Linked DNA regions of Homo sapiens: region 1 is linked to region 2. Evidence: promoter capture Hi-C in human tissues and cell types (Jung and others, 2019). All regions are on one chromosome and are shown on one strand. The core of a region is centred on a gene start or on the middle of the fragment in contact, and the rest is flanking DNA. Distances in the headings are between cores, read along the strand shown. Region 1 holds the start of LOC112268431 (a long non-coding RNA gene). Region 2 holds the start of SP140L (SP140 nuclear body protein like).

Region 1 (4,220 bases), core at 384-2,883, 260 kb after region 2:
TGTGGAAATTGACAAATTGATTTTAAAATATAAATGAAAATGCAAAAGACCAAAGTTAGCCAAAAGAGTCTTGAAAAAGAATCACAATGTTTTAACTTCATATAAAGTTACAATAACTAAGACAACATGATATGGGCATAAAGATAAACATATAAATCAACAGAGACTACAAGAAAGAGAAACACACACATAAGGTCACCAAATTTACAACAAAGACACCGCCACATTTCAGTGGGGAAAACGATGGTCACTTCATGAAATGGTATTGTTGGAGCAATTGAACACCCTACCTCATACCATACACAAAAATTTATTTCAAATGAATCATAGACCTAAATATGAAAGATAAAATAGTAAAGCTTCTAGAGCAGGTAGTATAATATCTTCTTGGCTTAAGGTAGGCAAAGATTTCTTGCAAAAGATCCCAAAACACTAACTATGAAAGAAACCACTGACAAATTAGACTTACTTAAAACTAAGAACTTTTGTTCATCAAAAGACACTATTAAGAGAGTGAAAAAAAGCCACAGAATATGTGAAGATATTCACAACACATATCCAACAGAAGACTTCTATGTAGAACATGTAGGAAGAATGTCTAGTAATTAGAACACAAAAATCCCAATTTTTTTTAAAAAAATAGGCAAAATAACAGGCATTTCATAACAAAATACTCAAATGACCAATAAACATATCAAAAAGTGCTCAAAAGCATTGTTTTTCACGGAAATGCAAAGTAAAAGCTCAATGAGATACCACTATGCCAAGATACCACTATCTATTCACCAAAATGGCTAAGATCTACAAAAAAAAAAAAAACCTAGCATCAAATGTTGAGAAGAATATGCTGTTTGAAACACTCATACGTGGCTAGTGGAGTGACAATTAGGACACCCACTTTGGAAAACTGGCAGTGTCTACTAAAGCCACCCTATGACCGGGCAATTACACTCCTAGGTCTATACCAAGAAAAACAAAGCAAAACCAATACAAGAAACCTCAGGGTTCAAATGTCTTTGTCTCACCCAGGTAACATTTGCAAAAGGGTAAGCCAGGATAGGTAGCGTTCCATCACCAGCTATCACTTGCCACTTTTTACCTGATTTCTCAGAGCTTAGTTTCTTCTACTTTACAATATGCAGTTGGCTTTATGACCCAGTTCAAAGAAGTTTTGGAATAAAACTAAGTATAAGTAAATAAATATAAAAACCCACATGGAGAAAGATGACAAAGGAAGGGAGAAAAAGACGCATCCTCTGTTCACTTGCCACCTCCACCTGCTGACTTCCTGGTCCTGCTACTTTCTAGGCTGCAGAGCCCCATGGGGGCTGACACACCATCCGTCAACATCTATGAACTCTCAGGCCCAATGTGGGCTTTCCAACATGGCTCCCAGGGACCAGAACAAAAAGTCTGAACTGACTCACCCAGAAAGTAGAAAAGGGAAGTGAAAGTATTAATATTTCTGAATGCCTCTGTATTTGTGAAAACTAGGCCACAGATAGTGGGGTTTCTCAACTCTTGTGAAAATATGGTAGCCGGGAATTAAGAAGGACTTACAGAATCATGACTGGAGGACCAGAAGAGGGTACAGGCCAAGGAGGAGGAACAGGAGGCCAACTCCAAGAAGTCCATGGAAGTCAGGGGATCATGTGTTTATGCAAAGGAAAGAGGGCAGAAAACTCTATTTGACCAAAGCTGACTGAAGTTGTTTCTAGGTGAAGTAACATAGTTGATGTTAGAGAGAAGTAAAACTCTGTTTGCCTCCTCCCCTTGCAGACATGGCCATGGGAAAAAAAAAAAAAAGGGAAAGACAGAAACTTCCAAGCCTTTCTCAGGCCTATGAGTTGGTGGGGCACATTGTGACCTTGACTGGACAAGTTAGACCCCAAGCATTTGGATATAGGTTGGAGGAAGCTGAAATGCTCTACATCATAAAGTCAGGGGAATGCCCTTAGAAATTTCTGGAAAGCAGGCAGGGAGGAAAAAGAGAAACCTCTGGACCACTGGGGCCAGAGGCAGGAGCCAAGTTGGTAAAAATAGCCAAGCTTTTAAAGATAGTACAGATATAAGGCTTTTAAAAAATATCCCCAGAATTTGACACTCCTCCCATTGACAGGTGGAGTCTGTGTCCCCTTTCCTTTAATCTGGGATATGTGACTGCTTGACCAACAGAATGTTTGAATATGGCAGAAGCAATGCTATGCTGATATTAAGACCAGGTCTTAAACCACAGGAGGGCCCCAGCCAGCCAGCCAGCCATGTGGTGCGCCATATTGGAAGTTGATGCTGCAGCCCTGGTCGAGCTGCCAGGAGATACCCATCTAGAGCAGACACACACCATCTCCACTGAGCTCTGTCCAAACTGCAGGTGTATCACGAAATAAAATAAGACTTTTATTGTTTTAAATCACTGCTTTAGGGTAGTTTTTTTTTTCACAGTAGTATAACTAGAACAGATTTTGAAGTAGGATGCAGTTATAACAAAAACATAAAACATGGGGCATTTGGCTGTGGGACAGAGCAGTGGATGGAAGCCTAAAGGTGTTCCAGAAGATGTCAGTGCAGTGTATGAGAAAGCGAGAGAAACACTAGTGGAATCTGGAGGAAGGAGACCCTTGTTATATAGTAGTAAAAGTTCTGTAAAACTCTCACCTGCAGTCATGGGGAAGTAGAAAATGTACCTAACAAAATCAATGACCTAGAGATGTCCAGGCAGTGGAGCTCAGAAATGATTCTCATGGGATGGGCCAAGAGGATGAGAACCAAGATTATCTAGGTCTTAAGGGGTGAGATGAAGATCCAGCTACATTTATGTTTGTACACAGTGATTTTTTTCACTCATACTCTGATATTATTCAAGAAAGATTTGAAGTGACTTTTTAAAATACTGAAATGTATCAGTACAAAGTTAAAGATAAATTGGAGCAAAGAGAGAATGAAAGTAGGACATGAACTAAAACCAGGGACCAGAACTCTGAGCCGAACTGTGGGGCAGAGACAGGGAGGCAGCTGGGAGCCCCAGGGATGCTAGAATCTAGGGCTTAAGGTGAGCAGAGCCCAAAAGCAGGTGAGGATTCAGGGGCCCCAGGGGTACCGTGATCCAGAATGATGCTTTCCAAATCATGTTCCACTGAATCTGACTTCTGACTGTTTTTTGGTTTGTTTGTTATGTTTTGTTTTGTTTTTGATACAGAGTCTCGCTCTGTCACCCAGGCTGTAGTGCAGTGGCATGATCTTGGCTAACTGCAACCTCTACCTCTCTGGTTCAAGCAATTCCCCTGCCTCAGCCTCCCGAGTAGCTGGGACTACAGTCACACGCCACCACATCTGGCTAATTTTTCTTGTATTTTTAGTAGAGATGGGGTTTCACCATGTTGGCCAGACTGGTCTCAAACTCCTAACCTCAGGCAATCCACCCACCTCAGCCTCCCAAAGTGCTGGGATTACGGGTGTGAGACACTGCGCCTGGCTGACTGTTTAAGAGGAATCCCAGGACATAAGGGTTCTGTGCCCAAATAATGAAAAATGTGGGTCAACGAGGCTTCTATCCTTCTTCTCCTGCACCCCCCACCCCTGGCTTGCGTTCTTGCGTTTCTCTCCCCACAAATTGGGTACACATCCCAGCACGCCAATGAGGACATCTTCACCGGTGGACAGGCACATGCAGGTCCTGCACATGCGTGGGTCTCTCCCTCTCTCTGCCTTCTCCCTCCCTCTCCCTCTCTCTCCCTCCCCCACCCTCTCTCTCTGGCTCTGACTTGTCACTTGTGTGTCACACGTCTCACTGAAGCAGGATGTGCTCCCTCCCAGCAGAACCATCTCTCCAGAGTGCTGCTCTCTTTTGCTCCCAACCATTATGGGGCAAGTTAACCTAAGCAAGAGAGTGGCCCAAATGTGCTGACTTCTCTGACTCCCTTGAAAGAACAAAGCACTTTGGTGTTCCTCAGATGGCTGTTGGGAGGATTAGAACTCTTGTGGTTCAGAAATAACCCTTTGATTCTAAACCCCATGCCCTAGTCAATAGTACTCCTTCCTGGAGTCTTTCAAAAAAATCATTCCAGGCCAGGCACAGTGGCTCATGCCTATAATCCCAGCACTTTGGGAGGCCGAGGTGGGAGGATCACTTGAGGTCAGGAGTTCAAGATCAGCCTGGCCAACATGGTGAAACCCCATCTCTACTAAAAATACAAAAATTAGCCAGGTGTGGTGGTGTGCAC
Region 2 (3,949 bases), core at 1,243-3,742:
GCCAGGTTCTCTATTCTCATGCCCCAGTGGCACTGTTGCTGCAGCTGCCTCCTGCCCTGAAACTCTCTGGTCCATAACGCCAATGACCTCATCTCAGGGATAGACCTCTGGGTTCCCACATGGGGGTCCCAGGTTCAAGAATCACAGCCCCTCCCCACCCCTCGCCACTGAAGTCTGAACTGAAGCTGCTTTTGGTGAAGCTCACGAAGGCCCATCACCTGGATGGGTGCCCTGCCTGTGGTTCTTCCTCAATCACTGCCTCTCCTGCTTCTGAGTTTTCCAGGCTCCAGTAACTGGAACTACTTCTGTGACAGCAAAAACATTCCCTGTTGCCTGTACTCCTTGCAGCCATAGAAAATGCTCCAGGAGTTCCATTATTTCCTTCTAAACAATCCAGCAGGATTTTTAGAACTTCATACTACTTCTTAATTTGGTCCTGTCCCTTTCCCAACCCAGGTGTGTCTGATGTATTCCAGATCAAAGAAACTTTGCTTTTCCCACAGAAGCCTAGAGATTCTCCATTAACTGGCATTGCTTTTGCAGAGTGTGGTGTGTGCTCAGCTTTTTCCAACCCTGTCTGACAAGAACATCTCCTTCCCTGCTGTCAGGAGCTGCCCTAGCAAGGGCATGTCCACCTGTAAAGGTCAACACTTGCAGATTTCCAGCCAGCTCATTGGTCTGGAATTCCAGCCCCTAAGCACACCCAGAGAAAAGCTGGTACATATGTCAGTGCCACTCAGTGGCCTGGGCCTGCTTGCTGCCCAAGAGCAGTGAGAGGGGTGAGTGCAGACGCCAGAGCCGACTGGTGTGGTCCGCGCCAGGCCTTGTCAGTGCTGCTGTGCTCCATGGAGACTGGGATCAGAGGACAACTGTGCCCAACAGATGCTCAGCTTACCAGCCACTGTGCCTCCATAAAACTGGGGAGTCATGGGGGAGCGAGCAAGAGAAAGAGAGAGAGAGACCTACAGGTGTGCAGTACCTGATAGAAACAGTGACCTCGCCCACTGGAAAAGCTGTCCTCACCAGTGTCTTGGCACCTGCTTATTAACTCATTTTGGGGAAAGCAGGGCACCAGTAGAATCAGGGTAGAAACCCCCCACCCTCGTATTTTCAAATGTACCTGAACAAGCATTCACAGCTTCCAACTATTGTGCAATAAACAGCAAAAAAAAAAAAAGTCCTTGAACCAAAATTGTCCTTAGCTGCTCTGCCCTCTAAGATGGGGCATAGTTTACATGGGAGTTGGGGGAGGACTCCATGTTTGCCCCTTCCCCTTGCTGAGATGGCTGGGGGTGGGGGCTGGAAAAAGTTGGATTCAGCAGAATGTAATTTGGAAAACATGGCTCTGGAGCACCATCCCCTCTGGCCCCTGAATCCTCACCAGCTTCCACCCTCTGCTCACCTTGGGCCCTGGATTCCAGCGCCCCCAGGCTCCCAGCTGCCTCCCTGTCTCTGCCCCATGGTCCAGCCTGGAGTTCTGGTCCCTGGTTGTGTCCTGTGGCCCCATTCTCATGCGCCCTTTGCTTCTATTTCTTTACCTATGACTTTATACTGATGTAAAGCGAGTCTTCTCGGTCGCTTCTTGTTCTCTGAGGAATGTTGAATCAGAATCTAAATGGAAAATCTGGGAAGAGATAGAACCTCCCGCGGGAGCCACCCTGCCCTTCCATGTCTAGATCATCTGGGTTCCAACCTCCATCCTCCTCCAATGAGAAGCTTTTGTTCTCTCAAGATTCCAGTGACTTCTCCGAAGCTCTCTTCATCCCTGGCTGTTCCAAGGTGGCCCCATAGTCAAGATTCCTTAAACCCTTGCCCCTTAAAATGTTTGCCTTTCTTACCATGCTGGCTCCAGCCTCTGGTCCCAGGGGTGTGGAGAGTTCTCTCTTACTTCTGGCTGATTTCCAGGAAGGCTAAGAACACTCTCCCCAGGTTATAATGCTGAGCATTTTGGTTCTCTCCAGCCCTGGGTCCCCATGTCAGGACCTACCTTAGTCCAGTCCATGCTCTCCCATGGGCCTGAGAGAAGATTTGAAGTTTCTGGCTTTCCCTCCAACCCTCCAACTCTCACCCCCAGCCATTTCAGCAAGGGGAAGGGGCAAACATGGAGTTTTCCCCCCAACTCCCATGTAAACTATGCCCCCTCTTAAGAGGGCAGAGCAGCTAAGGACTATTTTGGTTCAAGGACATTTTTTTTTTTTTTGCTGTCCATTGCACAAGCAAGTGGACTCCCGGAAGCCAGCCCTGCTCGTCCTCTGGGCCCTCCTTTCCCTGGTCCTGCAGGTCTTGCTGCTTGTCAGGCCTCTCCTCCAACCGTCTGCCACATTTCAGAAAAGCTGAGAACCCCTTGGAGTGAAAAAGGAGGAGAAACACGGTGTCTGTATCCCAGCAGGAAGTTAAATAAATACTTTCACTTTTCTTTTCCCCATTTGGGCAGAAATCTGTGAGGGTGAGTCAGTCTGTCGGCCGACTTCCTGCTCCGGGTCAGGGCAGCCACACTGCACGCAGGCTGGGCCGACTGGGGAGCTCATAGGCCAGGCTCTGACACCCAGGCAGGGCCTAGGGTGGGACGATGGCAGGTGGGGGCAGCGACCTGAGCACCAGGTGAGTCTTTATCTCTCTTCCTTTCACCTTTATCTCTGGCAGTATTGGAGCTTTCATGCCTGTAGTTCAGTTTCTGTCTAAAGCTTCAGTTTAGTCCTGCTTTGCAAGAACATAGGTAGGTAGTGTAATATAATGGAATAAAAGAGAATGTAATAAGGAAATCAGATTTTTACAACTGCAGCAGGACAGCTGTTTGTGTGAGTCCAGCTTGCCATAACACAGATGACTTTTCTTGTTTTGAAACTACTGCTCAGCTGGCGGGGACACTCTGAACAGTCGTTTCAGTCATTTGTGACTGAGAGTTATTATTTCCTCATGAGAATGAGGAACACAAATTATATGTTTGTGTTTCAACAAACATTTCCTCATGATCTCCCAACCCTTTCACATCCCTCTGCCCTCTCTACCTTCACATATGTCATGTCAAAGAAGGTAGTTTGGAAATAGACACTCCAGGGTAAACAGCTGGCTTACTTTTAAACATTGGAAACTGTGGTTTCACCTGTCTTGGCAAGGGGCCTCAGTCAGCTTTGGGGCTATTTCCTTGACTGACTCAGGGTGTGAGTTCTGATACAATTGACCTTGATCCAAAGAAGGAAAAAGAAGAAAAAGGCCCAGGATGGCAGAAAGCTAAATATTTTTATTTTTACTTCAATTTCCTGTCCCAAGATGGGGGATGCCTCTGACCAGAAAAGAGATGGAAATCCTATCTTTTCTCTAGTAACGAGTTTATAAATAACATTACGTAATCTTTTTATTTTATTTCATTTTTTTGAGACAGGGTCTCACTCTGTCAACCAGGCTGGAGTGCAGTGGCACAATCCCGGCTCACTGCAACCTCTGTCTCCTGGGTTCAAGCGATTTTAATCTTTTAAATTTTTTAATACAAAAGAAATACATTACATTCTTACTCATAAAATTTCAAACAGTGGAGAAGTGTATAAACGAAAAAGTCTTCTTCACCACTCACTTCGCCTTGTAGCTTCCTTTCACAGTCTTGTGAAGAGTCTTCGGCATAACTTTTCTCATATTTTTCGATGCATTTACGTGTATGAAGTATGTTTTTGTAAACATATAATTTGTGTTCTCGTTTTGTAATAAATGGAATTACATTGTGCGTGCTATTCTGCATTTTGCATTTCTACTCATTTTAATGGTGGAAATCTTAGAGATCTTTTCACCTTAATGCATATAGATCTACCTCACTCTTTTTACATATACTATTCCATAGAATTTACATAGCATAATTTTTTAACCATTCTCCAATTGAAGGACATTTAGATTGTTTTAAATTGTTCACGTTTATCAATAAGCTATAATAATGATTATATATTTCTCTTTTTTTTGC

Evidence for each region. The method cuts DNA at HindIII sites, captures the fragments that hold promoters and counts their contacts. A contact is called where the count stands out against the background at its distance.
Region 1: a contact is called between a fragment that was not itself captured here and the fragment with the promoter of SP140L in region 2, in 3 of the 25 tissues and cell types used here (hippocampus, lymphoblastoid cells and spleen).

What each region holds. Positions count from the first base shown.
Region 1 is chr2:230,588,284-230,592,503 of GRCh38, forward strand. It overlaps LOC112268431 (a long non-coding RNA gene), which reads right to left and starts at 1,373. Exons shown (of 5, transcript XR_002959453.2): 1 at 1,215-1,373. RefSeq lists enhancers at 971-1,120, 1,281-1,530. The HindIII fragment of the contact is 6,376 bases long and covers 1-4,220 here.
Region 2 is chr2:230,324,701-230,328,649 of GRCh38, forward strand. It overlaps SP140L (SP140 nuclear body protein like), which reads left to right and starts at 2,493. Exons shown (of 19, transcript NM_138402.6): 1 at 2,493-2,601. The coding sequence starts at 2,570. RefSeq lists an enhancer at 2,167-2,636. The HindIII fragment of the contact is 8,396 bases long and covers 30-3,949 here.